Regions from separate parts of the Homo sapiens genome. Here region 2 is linked to region 1. The links are contacts of gene promoters, found by promoter capture Hi-C in human tissues and cell types (Jung and others, 2019). All regions are on one chromosome and are shown on one strand. Each heading gives the region's core, a stretch centred on a gene start or on the middle of the fragment in contact. The rest is flanking DNA. Distances are from core to core; before and after follow the strand shown. Region 1 holds the start of M6PR (mannose-6-phosphate receptor, cation dependent). Region 2 overlaps NECAP1 (NECAP endocytosis associated 1).

Region 1 (7,515 bases), core at 4,033-6,532:
AGTTCTTTTGCAAAATATCATTTGATTCAGTAATTGTGAGGTGAATAAGGTAAAGATTCTGCTCCTAGTTTTGCATATGAGAAAACAAGGTCAAAAGGTGATACGACTTTCCAGTCACAGGATTAGGAAACAGGAGGAGAACCTGGTCACATGATCCCCAGCCCCAAACCCTTTTGTTACTTTTTTATTGTATTATTTACCAGGAGTAAATAGCTACCTTGTATAACTTATTTATCTGTATGGGAGGGAATTGGACCATAGGTGCTTACATGGTCCTCTCCAGCAATATGACTTTTAAGAAATATCACCACCATAGCACAAAAATCAGTGGGTAAAGTTTTGCAGACTGAGTAGTTTGCAAAAAAAAGTTTGAGCTCTTAAAATTTAACTGGTAAACTTTGATTAATTTGATGAAAAGTGGTGGTGGTGGTTGGTATTTGTAAGTCTAGTGTGAAACTCATTAAAAGTATTTGGGTGAATAAAAGGACTCTAGGCTACAGAATTCTGGCTAGAGTTGGCTGGGCGCGGTGGTTCATGCCTGTAATCCCAGCACCTTGGGAGGCCAAGGTGGGCAGATCACGAGGTCAAAGATCAAGACCATCATGGCCAACATTGTGAAACCCTGTCTCTGCTAAAAATACAAAAATTAGCTGGGCATGATGGCACACACCTGTAGTCCCAGCTACTCAGGAGGCTGAGGCTGGAGAATCGCTTGAACCCAAGAGGCTGAGGTTGCAGTGAGCCGAGATTGTGCCACTGCACTCCAGGCTGGGTGACAGAGAGAGACTCCGTCTCAAAACAAAACAAAACAATTCTGGCTAGAGTCTTCATTTTGCATAAGTTTTTCACTGATTTTAATGCACAACTGTCCTGAGCTGTGGCTTACAGAGGAGCTGTGGAATTAGGCATCCTGTGGTATATTACAGTCTCAGGTGTGCCGAACCACACGTATGATATGCTGAAGACACTAGAAACGGCCAAGACATACAGGATTGTCAGAGGGATTGACTTGGGATCAGTTAGTCAATCGATGGTAGGAAGGGGAGTTTTCTTACTTCCGTTGAAGATGTGAGTCTCGTTGAGTCTCCCTACCACTGTCTCCTTCCCATTACTTTTGTTGATTTGCACCAGGCCTGCCCCAGAAGTGTGGTTGCCAGCTTCCCGGCACACCCTGAAGATGTAGATGTATGTGTCTGAACCCTGGCCCACAGTGCTCTCAAAGCTGTAAAGAGAAGTGGGAAGAAAGAAGAGGAGAGTTACTAGCTATCAGCCTCAGGAATAACAGCATCCCTTTCCTTAATTAAAACAAAACAAACAACATGCTCGATTTATTTATTTGAGGTCATGGCTGAGTGAATATTTGTTTAATTTTAAGATATTCATAACCTTGACAGACCATCCTTATTGCTGATGATGAATTATTAAAACACACTTGAGCTATCTTGATAGCTCAATATTCTAGTTATTTTTAGAATGCCTGTTAGTAACCATGTTCCAATGAATAAGGGCCCATGTTCATCGGATAGTCTCGTTTCTTAGGGACCAACTTCAGATTTATATATCTGAAGGTTCCTGACACTTATAATGACATGTGTCGGCCTAAATATGTTTATCTGATATTTCTAAAGTCCTATTATATGTAGGTGTCAAATAATCCTTAAATTTCTACAAGCTGGTCTCTTGGATCCAGTCTTGGAAATAGCTACACTTCTGTGAAAGATGAGAAAACTGCACACAGCAACTAAAAACTGGGCTGAGAATTTGCTCTATGTCATAAAAGAGAGCACATTATGAAATAAAATCAGTAAGAAGAAAAGACTTTAACATAAATATTTTCTCAAGCTCTTTAAGGTTCTTCTCATTTACCTTTTATTAAACAGTGGTTTCAGCCTCTTCACTAGAGCCAACTCTTTCTCTGACTCTTTACCCTTTTCTCCTACCAAGTCGCAAGTTTTTTCTTCTGTCTGCCAGGATTCTCTCACTGCCACAGCCAGGAGTAGTAGTAGCAGTCCAGTCCTCCAGCAGCTGTAGAAAGGGAACATCCTTTGGGAGAGAGTGTGTGTTGGGGAGGGCAGGTAGGATCAGGAGAGAGAGGAAAGAGATAAAGCGTATGAATGTGTAATAAATCGATGGTATTTTAATTATCCAGAAAGTACAAGATTCTCTGGCATATGCAACACATAGTACATTTTAATATCTCTGTAACAAGAGCATCTGCAGCAGAAAATTCATTTATATGTAACTTGTAGTCTAATGTATAGGTGAGTCTTTCAGAACAAACTACAAAGTTGGGAAGAGGGAAATGAAAGAACTTAAAAAAGAATGATGACAGCTTGGGTGGAGCCATCCTTGCCTCTTTACTGTTTGATGGCTTGATGTAGTCTTCTGAAACCTCTTTGGCCTCTACAGGTCACAAATCTCAAGGGTTTCTAGACTTCCCATAAGTACAGTTGTCTTTTACACTACAAATCAATGACAACAAATTGGGGATCACCAAGCCACTTTACAATTGAGTAAATTCAATGCACCTGCTGCTTGTACTGCTCTAGGAATGAAAACACACAGACAGCTCTCTTTCCCAAACTTACTAGACTGGTGCAAAGGTCATTGTGGTTTTGGCAAAAAAACCCCACCAAAACCTAACATTTTCTTTTCTCTTATCCATCTTCATACCCAGGACAGACTGACTTACCCTTGCAAAACACTTTACTCTGGTATCTGTTAATGATCCCTCAGGCCATTGCTACTTGTTTATTCCAAGAGTATCACGGACAATTTCCTGATTTAACTCTTCTAAACTTTTCTCACTTACAAAAAACGCTGCAAGTCTGGACTTTGGTTTGAATATTCTTTAAAGTTCTCTAGTTCTTTTTCATGCGGGTCCACTTACTCCACCTCATTTTTAAAATATAAAACTTGAAACAGGCAGAATTTTCATGGGTACTAATGAGTTTGAAGATGGGAAAATGGAAGCTCCAACCTTGGCCGTGAATGCACTTTCCCCATTCCCCTAAACAACCTAACATCTGACCTTCCACTTCCCACACCCCACTAAAGCAAAAAATCCCGGGAAATTGTCTACCTGACTTCCTGTACCCCAAACATCAATTCTCTACTGTAATATTATGGTAGTTTCCATAGAATAATCATAGCTAACCAAGAGGTCCAAGGCCCTCATAACACATTTAATGCACTGAAACCACACAACAGCAGGAAACAACAGACTACTGCCTTGGGCCAGGTGCTGTTCAAAGCACTTAACATATATTAATTAACTAATTAATCCTCACAACCTTATGAGTAAATACAATTATTGTTGCTATTTTACCAGTAAGAAAACTGAGACACAGCTAGTGGAGTGAGCCAGAGAGTCTAGCTCCAGAGCTCATGGTCTGTGTTGAACAACTACATGTATATTTCCACTATGTGCATAACAATTTTTTGGAGATGAGAGTAGACAGCCAAAACTGTGGGTTTTTTTTTTTTTCTACTAAGAAGTGAAGGGGAAGTGATTCCTCACACAGTTGACTGAATAGGAGGTGAAATAAAGAACTCAGACCTCCAACTCCCACCTTCCCTAAGTTAACCCACTGCTCAACACACAACTTGACCAGCTGACTCACTAAAAAGAAATAGGAGACTCCTTCTTCTAGACTGACTTAGCCTGCCATTTTCCTTTCCAGTCTCTCAGGACCTAATTAAAAACTGACAGTTGATTTCTTTTCCTAAATTAGAACAAGGAATCTCACAAAATTAGGAAGGGATGAAAGGTTAAACACCTCAGCCATTAGCTGAGTTGAACTATCTTTCATTTGCTTATTATTCAAAAAGTTAGGATAATAAATTTATACTGTATTCTTCTTTCCTGCTTAAGGCTTGTCTTTAAATTTAAGCTGCTTCTCTTTAATTCAGTGGCATATGCGCTAAATGTTTTCCCTAGATTATGTTCATTCATCTTCACAACCCAGAAAATAGGTATAATTTTTCATACTTCACAGATGAGAAAACTGATGCTTTACAGAATTACTTGTTAAATTACTTGCTGTACATTACACAGATATTAAATGTGTGTGAAGTTACTGGGGCAATTTAGACGATTCGTGGCATAAAGATAACTGCTGGAAAACTTATAAACATAGGGGTGCAACAATCAGGAAGAGAATGAAATGGAAGGGCCCAGTAGCCCCCTTTTAATATGCTACAATTAGATTCTCAAGGTACAAGAGTTTGTCTATATACTTTGGAAATAAGGAGCAGGATTTTATGATCTTGAAAAATCTTTCAGTTTTCTTATTCTCTAACGACAGATCTATTTTATTTGGCAATGCTAAAAATTATCCTTTATTAGGGTGGCCAATGACTAAGCCAGCAACTGGGAAGCAGCTTACACCACTGGGCCTCTGTAGCACTCACTTCCCCATCTGTTAAGACAGCCATGGCCATTTACCAGTGGAATTTCTACTGTCTTCCCGCTGGCTCCTTTCTGATGTAGCAGTCCTTATCCCTTTTTCTCCAGCAGCCTACATGTTTAGAAAAGCAGCCTCAATTGGCTAAAAGGCCTAATGCTGAAAGAACTCAAGAGAGAAGGAGCCTCAGACAAGTAGCGGCTATGTCCCAAGAGCGGAAGCTCCCCACAACGAGGAACACAAGATAATCCGTCCATCAGCCATTCTTATCCACACCACAGTCGCATCCCCCTCAAAGCTCTCCCAGGGTGCCAGAAATTCTCGCTCTGTCTAGTGTCCCGACTTTCCAAGCGCTTGTAGCCATACCCTCTCCAAATGATGCCACTTGACCTCCCACCGTGATGCAGGCCAAAATTCCTCCTACAAATAAATCCACCAACACCTCCAACGGACTCCATACTTGGGGTATTTTCCTTTCCCTGCTTTCTAAATATCGTAAATCCCCTCTCTGGTCTTGGAAGTCCTTTCTCCCTCACACCTTTCGGAACTCCGTGACTCTCCGCTCTCATGCCTCCGCCTCCATTCTACCCTTAGGGCTCCTCAGCCAGATCTTTGGCTAGAACCATGGTCAAGGGAGAATGCGATTCCGGCTCCTGTCACAGACGCTTAAGTGTGAGCGCAACCCAGCCCGCCTCCTCCTCCACGCCCCTCACACTCACGTGTCGTGGGAAACTGGAGTAGCCAAAGCTCAGAATCCCCAGTGAATACCCTTCTGGGGATGGGAGACGGGGCCAGCTAGGGGCCGGCCGCAGACCCCGGTCCCAGAGCTAGTTTCAGAGGCCAGCGTTCCCCCTAGCGCCTCGCTGTGCCCCACTCTGGGAACCGGAAACAGGAAGCGCCAAGAGGCCGCTGGGCAACCGCTCCTCCCACCAGACCCCGCGGCATGTGACCATAGAACCATTTCGCCCCTTTCCCCTTCCCGGGCTCCCTGATAATCTTAAACTCTGATTGGCCAGTATTCTGGGACTTTAGCTCCGCCCTCGTTCCATCAGCTCCAATCACTATCGAGGTTGTCGTTTCGCCTTTTCTGGTTGCCTTTCTTTCAATGGGGTCCCAGAGTCCCGCTTCCAGGGCCTCTCGGCTCGCGCACCCCGGTCACGCGGGGTCACGCGCCTGACCGCTCCCGGGTAGGGTTCGAGTGAAGAGGGTGAGAGGGGCAGGTGGCGGAAGCGGAAGTTACGCAGGCAGCTCGCCCTCGGGCTCCGCGGGAGTTGTAGTTCTCACGCTAGGTCTCCTCCGGGCGCTTCCCTAGCCCGTTCGCCGCCTGAGAGGGACGCTGTTCCGCCGCGTGGAAGCTTCGAGTCTCGACTCCACTGTTGACCCCTAGACGAGAGTAGTGCAGCGACGGGGCCGTGATGTGCGTCCTGGCTTTCTTAACGACACCTCTCCTCTGTATTTCCTTTTTCCAGTTGAGTACCTTGGGGTGAATTATTATTGTTACTGTTATCTCTGTCGTTCCTTACTGCTTCGTGGTATTTTGCTTGATAAGCATGCTCTGCAACCACCTCTGTTCGCCAGAGGTTACTTCTGCAAAGTAGGAAGAAACGAGCAATACGATGGTAATCTTTGCGCCTTTGCTAAGATCTTTTGTAGGTTCCTTATGTCTTACTAGCCACTTGTTGAAGTCCTGCTCATTCTTAAACTCTGTTCAGATGTTATTTTTCCTGTAACTTCGTGCATTCACTCTCTTCAGAATTAACAATTTCTTCCTGTGGACCCTCGCTTGTGGCTTGTACCTGGCTTTAGCATGTTTTCATTCCGCTTCCACTCTTACGTTGCTTCTATGTGTGCCTCTCTGGCTCTATGCAGGTGCCTGGATTTTTGATTCTTACCCCTCTCATTAGAACTACTACAGTGTTTTGAGTCTAATAATAATAAAAGCTAACGGATGCATATCTCGGTGGTGCCCGGCACTTTTGTAAGTGCTTTAAACGATAGTTAATTCACTTGGTCTTCACACCAACCTTATGAGGAAGTATCTTATCCCAAGTTTACAGATGAGTAAATTAAAGCAGATAGAAGCTAAGTAACACCGTGGGTCCCAAGCTATTAAGTTATGGAGCCAGTATTTAAATAGTCTCCATAATCCATGCTCTCAAGCACTACGCTTTACCGACTGTATGCCATTCTGCATTTCTTTGTTTATTAGTAATACATTCAGTTCAGGCTAGGTAGTAATCATATCTGGGTTGGATGTTGCCCCAATAAAAAAAAAAATTAAATTTTTTTCTTCCTGAAAATGAAAGTAATTTGTGATCAGATAACACAGAAAACAACAAAACAAAAATCATACATAAACTCACCAGGAGGGTGTGTATTTCCTTCATGAATATATGTTGTTTCCTTTTTTCAAAAATGTATCAGTCCCACACTGTGGCTCATGCCCGTAATCCCAGCACTTTGGGATTCCGGGGCAGAAGGATCACTTGAGGTCAGGAATTCAAGACTAGCCTGGGCAACATAGTGAGACCCCTTCTTTCAAAAAAAAAAATCAGCTGGGCTTGGTGGTGCACACCTGTAGTCCCAGCTGCTTGGGAGCCTGAGGCTGGAAGATTGCTTGAGCCTGGGAGTTGGAGGCTGCAGTGAGCTATGGTCTTGCCACTACCCTCCAGCCTTGGTGATAGAGTGAGAACCTATCTCAAAAAGATATGTATGTATCAAATATTTTTCCATATCCTTGACTTTACAAATAAACTTTTTAATAGCATAATATTTAGTTCTATGCATTGCTACTTAACCAATGACATTAATGTTGAGCATTTAAGTTATTTCTACTGACTTATTTTTTATCAAGTAACTCAACACAGCTTTACTGAGCAATTACTATGTGCCAAAACCACAGAATATATAATATAGATCTTGGGGATACAGCAGAGAAAAAAGACAAAAATCCCTGTTACAATCCGTTCTAGAATTGATGTTCCTTTGTTGGTTAATTCAAGTTTTGATTTCAGAAATCTTACCTCTTGGTGACTGCCTAGAGTGGCATTGGGCTGGAGGGGAGGAACTGTTCATGTTGGAAATGGGGAATGGGCCAAAAATGCAATTG
Region 2 (6,517 bases), core at 1,087-3,586, 850 kb before region 1:
CTTTCAGGAAATCTCAAACTAAGATAACTTGCTGTGTTCCCAAAGGTGGGTAAAGCAGGAATCTGAGATTTCCAAGGAATCTCAAGAAATGGATGCTCGTCCTAAGTTGGATCTGGGCTTCAAGGAAGGACAAACCATCAAGTTGTGTATCGGGGTGAGTATGGTTTTTAAAAATTTTGTTTTCCTGTGCTTCCATAAGCCTATGACATCTTTCTCTTGCTCTTCTTTTTTTCTTTTGTAGAACATTACAAACAAGAAAGGAGGTGCTTCTAAGCCCAGGACTGCAAGGGGTGGGGGTCTGAGCTTACTCCCACCCCCGCCAGGAGGCAAAGTCACTATTCCCCCACCATCCTCCTCAGTTGCCATCAGCAATCATGTCACCCCACCACCCATTCCGAAATCTAACCATGGAGGCAGTGATGCAGGTAAATCTAGTACTTCTAATTTTGAGAAATCCAATCTTATGTTTTAATTAAGCAACACCTGTTTGTCAAGGAGAGTTAATGTTTTTGCTATGAAATAGCTCATGGTACTGACAAGGTGATTCTGTCAGCTTCTAGCAAGGAATCAAAGCTTTTCTAGTGAACTAAGAGTCATAGTATCTCATAGGTTCTTTGGCAGAAAATATTTGCTTATTAAAATGACAATTTCCTTCATTTTTTTCTTGGTTAGATGCTTATAAGCTTTTGAGTCAGATGGACCAAGATTTTGGTCATGGCTCTGCTACTTTATATTTGAATGTGCTTGGTAAACATTACTTAAGTTTTTTGAGTTTCAATTGCCTTATCTACAAACTGGAGATGTAAAACCACCCCAGCGGGGACCTTGGCTCATGCCTGTAATCCCAGCACTTTGGGAGGCTGAGGTGGGTGGATTGCTTAAGCTTAGGAGTTTGAGATCAGCCTGGGCAACATGATGAAATCCCATCTCTACAAAAAAAATACAAACATTAGTTGGACGTGGTGGTGCACGCCTGTAGACCCAGCTATTTGGGAGGCTGAGGTGGGAGGATGGCTTGAGTCTGGGAGGCTGCAGTGAACCATGATTGTGCCACTGTACTCCAGTGTGGGTGACAGAGTGGGACCTTGTCTCATAAAAAAACAAAGAAACAAACAAAAATAAATAAATAAATAAATAGATAAAATAAAATAATTACCACCCCAAGGTCATGAGGGTTAAATGATTGACAGCACCTAGCATAGCACTTGGAACATAGTAGGCATTTAGTAAATGTTATTAAACTTTCCCATTTCTTCACAAGAGCAATTGGGAGAAAAGAAGATATCTAGGTTTGTCCATACACTTTCATTCTTTCTTTCTGTTTGGTGGGAGAAAGAATAAATATGGTTATATCTTCTCATTTGAAAAATGAGAGCATTGGAACTGAGAAAAGAATTTTTCTGAGATTAGAGAACTGTGTCTTAGAATCTGAGAATTTTAACTTAATGTATTGGACAGTGCAGATAATTTGTTGAATTGATTACTAAGGGTAAGCTTTCTCTTTCTGGAATTTTTGAGGTGAAAATATTATAGCCTGCTTCTTTTGGTAAGTGTTGCCAGAAGCCACTGGGGATAGTATCTAAGATTTTTTTTAAATTAAATTATTATTTTGAGATAATCGTAGATTAACATGCAGTTGTAAGAAATAATATGAAGAGATCCTGTTTACCCTTTTCCCAGTTTCCCTCAATTGGTAATATTTTGTGGAACTATTGTCAAGTATCACAAATGAAAAATTGATGTTGATACCACTTTCTCATCTTACTCAGCTTACACCATTTTACATGTTCTCATCTGTGTATATTTGTGTGGATCTGTATATTTAGTTCTATGCAGGATTTTTTGTTATTTTTTGAGATAGGGTCTCACACTGTTGCCCAGGCTAGAGTACAGTGGTGCAGTCATAGCTCACTGCAGCCTCAAACTCCTGGGCTCAAGAGATCCTTCTGCGTCAGCCTCCCAAACATCTGGGACTACAGGTGCACACTGCCACACCAAGCTAATTTTTTAATTTTTGTAGCAACAGAGTCTCACTACGTTGCCCAGGCTGGCCTTGAACTTCTGGACTTCAGTGATCCTCCTGCCTTGGCCCCCTAAAATGCTGGGATTACAGGTGTGAGCCACTGCATCTGGCCAGTTCTTTGCAGTTTTGTCATGTGTAGGTTCATGGATCCACCATCATTTCAGGTTATAGAACAGTTTAATCACTACAAAGATCCCCTGTGTCAACCTTACACAACCACACCCATCTCCCTCTCATCCTTTCTTCCCCCATTCCTAACGCTTGGCAATCACCAGTCTGTTCTCCATCTTTATAATTTTGTCACTTCAGGAATGTTCTATGAAAGGAATCATACAGCATGTAACCTTTGGGACAGGCTTTTCCCACTCAGCATAATTCCCTTGAGATTCATTCAAGTTGTGTGTCAATAGTCTGTTTCTTTTTATTGCTGAATAGTATTCCATGGTATGGATATACCAGTGTGTGTAACTATTGCCCATGGAATGACATCTAGGTTGTTTACAGTTTTTGACCATTATGAATAAAGCTGCCGTGGCATTTGTATACAGATTTTTGTGCAAACATAAATTCTCATCTCCAAGATTTTTTTTTTTTTTTTTTTTTTTTGAGACGGAGTCTCGCTCTGTCGCCCAGGCCGGACTGCGGACTGCAGTGGCGCAATCTCGGCTCACTGCAAGCTCCGCTTCCCGGGTTCACGCCATTCTCCTGCCTCAGCCTCCCGAGTAGCTGGGACTACAGGCGCCCGCCACCGCGCCCGGCTAATTTTTTGTATTTTTAGTAGAGACGGGGTTTCACCTTGTTAGCCAGGATGGTCTCGATCTCCTGACCTCATGATCCACCCGCCTCGGCCTCCCAAAGTGCTGGGATTACAGGCGTGAGCCACCGCGCCCGGCCCTTCCAAGATTTTGATTATGTTTTTCTTTTTTCTTTTCTTACCTTGTGTTTAGATATCCTTTTAGATTTGGATTCTCCTGCTCCTGTCACGACACCAGCACCAACTCCAGTTTCTGTAAGCAATGACTTGTGGGGAGACTTCAGCACTGCCTCCAGGTAATGGGCATAGTGAAACTAGCATACTCTCAATCAGGGTGTAGGAGATATGTACAGTCAATTGAAATCTTTGATCTGGAGAAGCAATGGATATGCAGGTCACATAGAGTCTTTTGGAAGAGTTCTAGTGAAGGAAATATAGTAGTGCTGGGAATGGGGGGACAAAAAAGCTGTAGGATGAGGTTTGAGTGGGATATTTCAGGCCTTTGTAAGTAGAATTGCCATGAAGTGTGGTTTTGGAAATTCTAGGCAGTGATTTCTTAGAAACTATTAAGTAAAGAATGGAGTTGTTATCCTAATATTATGTCTCTGGCTTTCTCTGTTCTCCTGTCTTGCAGCTCTGTTCCAAACCAGGCACCACAGCCATCCAACTGGGTCCAGTTCTGAATGGCATTGGCAGGACATTAAGGACAGACTTGAGGAATAAAAATGACCTTGAGGGCACCAATCTGTGAGGGAAGTTAGGAACCCATTTCCTCCCCAGAACCAGAATGACTGGACAATCTTTTTCATAGCTTCTCCATCACATTCAAGCTGGTTTATGTCACTCCCCTGTGTTGTTACTTGTACAGCCAAGAAAGTATCTGTTATCTCCTGCGTAGTACCAAGGTAGGGGACTAGTGGATCTTATCATAGTTTTGGCTGACTATGCAGGGCTTAAAAGGCCAGCGTCTGTTTGAGGGGGAATGACCTCTAACATCTGTAAAATTTGTCTCATCTTTTAATTTCTTTAACTTATTTCAAAATCATCTCATGACCCTTGTGTGCCTCTTTGTGAAGCCCTATTTAGCAATTTCAGGGGAGTCAAAAACCTTGCAACTTCCTTCTCCACTAACCCAGGACTAAAAATGGACAGGCTGACCTCAGTGTTTACAAATTCAGAATTTTGATAGGGGTAGATATGGAGAAAGACCTATTTCCTGGGTCTCTGCTGTGTAGTCTCCTTCAGGCTTATTGTGCTCAGTGAACATCCAGTGCTGGGTGCAGCTCCATCACCCTCTTGTGTGTTTACATGTCTCTTTCTATGATAAGAGGGTTGTGTTGGTGGCACCTCCACTACTCTTTTCTGTTTGTTGAGTTTGAATTGTGTTAACATCTTTGATCAGTGGGTGTATCTGTAATGAAGGAGGTTCAAGAGGCTGTGCTTTCCAAGTGATAGTCTATAGGAGTGTTTAATTTCTTGCAGCTCCATCTGGTTGCTGCATTTGAAGCATGGCATTAATTTGTATTTGCCCTGTTCTTTGACCTAAAGTTGAAGGGTTTAGAGTTTTTAACCTGATCTGTAGAGCAGAGAGGTTGAAAGCACTTAACTCTTGTTTAGTATCCTCATTGCCTTGCTGCCTGGGTATCTGGCCCCTTTCCATAAACATTTCTTTTCAGTTCATGTAGTTCTTTAATAGAAAGCTGCTATTATGTATATTGTCATTTGTGAAGGAAGTTGGAGAGTCACAGCTTTACTGTGACAGGTTTTGCCCAAGGCTTTGATACCTGTCACCCAGGGTATCTTAAAAGCAAGTTGTTCTCCCACTACTTTCCTTTCCCTCTGCCCTGCCATTCCTATTACAATGCTGTGAAAAAAGTTCTGCTTCTTAGGTGAATGGGTACTTTCTATTTTGTTTCTAAACGAGCAATTTTGAGGATGAAATGGGAAGATATCATTGCTTCCTTTTTGCACCTATTGGGTATGTACACTCTGGCCGAAGGGAGTCCTTATGTTTAGTTTCAAAATATATTACTTTCCTGGATTCTCTTCTTCACTTTTTCTGACTTTGGGTCCATTTTCTTTTCATTGCCTCCTTTTCCAGGCAGCTCTATTCTTGCAGAGCCATAGCAGGACATGTTAAAATTCCAATAGAAAACACTAAAAGGAAAGTCTGTGGAATCACTAGTGACTAAATACTGGGAACCTATTTTCTCAATCTTCCTCCATGTTGTGTTCTTTGTATTCTTGAGATGATAATATATTATGTATTTGAATTCCTGAAAAATGGAAAATGTTTAAGATATATGTATATAAAGTGTATGCTGTATTGGTGCAATAATGGTAATTAAAAATATGAAAAAAGTGTCTCTTTTATCTTTTAATTTGCTTATTTGATTACCTTTTAAATTTAATTGACCAAATATAAGTGGACCAGTAGTTAATAAAGGATATTTATATCACTCTTTATTAAGAAATAAGGCTTTTAAGAAGTTGAGACTAGACCTCTGTGTTCATGGTTCTAAAATGACAGAGCACTCTGTGTAATCAATGAATATTCATTATTTATTTTCTGGTACAGTTAATTTAATTTGCTTCAAATTATCTTCATGATCTAGGCCACCTCTTATATCTTAACTGTAATCAGCAGAAATGAAAGGGATCAGTATAAGAGAAATAACTAAGGTCAGAACCACAGACTTTGGAAACCAGAAAAGGTCTTGGGAGTTCTTGTTCAGTGATTGCCACAGGAGATAAATTAGCTAGATGTGGTTGGTGGTTTACTCCTGTAATTCCAGCACTTTGAGAGGCTAAGGTGGGAAGATTGGTTGAAGCCAGTTCAAGACCAGCCTGGGCAGTATAGCGAGATCTTATCTCTACAAAAAATCTAAAAATTAGCTGGGCATGGCAGCATGTGCCTGTAGTCCTAGCTACTTGGGAGGCCGAGGTGGGAGGGTCACTTGAGCCTGGGAGGACGAGGCTGCAGTGAGTTGTGATTGTACCATGGTACTCTAGCCTGGATGATAAAATGAGACTCTCTCAAAAGAAAAAACAAAAAACATGAATCAAGGCTGGGCATGGTGGCTCATACCTATAATGCTAGCACTTTGGGAGGCTGAGGCGGGTGGATCACCAGAAGTCAGGAGTTCGAGACCAGCCTGGCCAACATGGTGAAACCCTGTCTCTACTACAAATACAAAAATTAGCTGGGCGTAGTGGTGGGTGCCTGTAATCCCAGCTACTCTGGAGGCTGAGGCAGGAGAATCACTTGAACCTGGGAGGCAGAGGTTGCAGTGGGCTAAGATTACACCACTGCACTCCAGCCTGGGTGACAGTGAGACTCCATCTCCAAAAAAAACAAACAAAACCCCCCCAAAACCATAAAACTATAGCTACAGTAATTTGTTAGTGGATACACAGTATGAAAATATGAAAATTGGTATCAAAAACAAAATGTGGCTGGGTGTGGTGGCTCACGCCTGTAATCCTAGCACTTTGGGAGGCTGAGGTGGGAGTATTGCTTGAGACCAGGAGTTCAAGACGAACCTGGCCAACATAGTAAGACCCTGTCTCAAACAAAACAAAAAATATATATGGGAGGGAAAGTTAAAGTGCAGAGTTTTTGTATGTGATTTAAATTATCAGCTTAAAATAAACTGTTAAAAAGTGTTATGTAAACCTCATGGTAACCACAAAGCAAAAACTATAGTAGATACACAAAAGATAAAGAGAACAATCAAAGG

Evidence for each region. Contacts are between HindIII fragments. The study calls those that stand out against the background at their distance.
Region 2: a contact is called between a fragment that was not itself captured here and the fragment with the promoter of M6PR in region 1, in 1 of the 25 tissues and cell types used here (spleen).

Annotation. Positions count from the first base shown.
Region 1 is chr12:8,944,363-8,951,877 of GRCh38, forward strand. M6PR (mannose-6-phosphate receptor, cation dependent) reads right to left here and starts at 5,283. Exons shown (of 7, transcript NM_002355.4): 1 at 5,126-5,283; 2 at 1,867-2,043; 3 at 1,056-1,222. The coding sequence starts at 2,042. It also overlaps a transcript of KLRG1 not described here. RefSeq lists enhancers at 4,547-5,452, 5,453-6,357, 5,856-5,985 and a silencer at 5,663-5,877. The HindIII fragment of the contact is 13,158 bases long and covers 1-7,515 here.
Region 2 is chr12:8,092,631-8,099,147 of GRCh38, forward strand. NECAP1 (NECAP endocytosis associated 1) reads left to right here. Exons shown (of 8, transcript NM_015509.4): 5 at 46-154; 6 at 242-425; 7 at 2,971-3,073; 8 at 3,412-5,251. The coding sequence ends at 3,460. Among named protein-coding and RNA genes, the nearest start is that of NECAP1, 14 kb to the left of the region's middle. The HindIII fragment of the contact is 6,438 bases long and covers 1-5,555 here.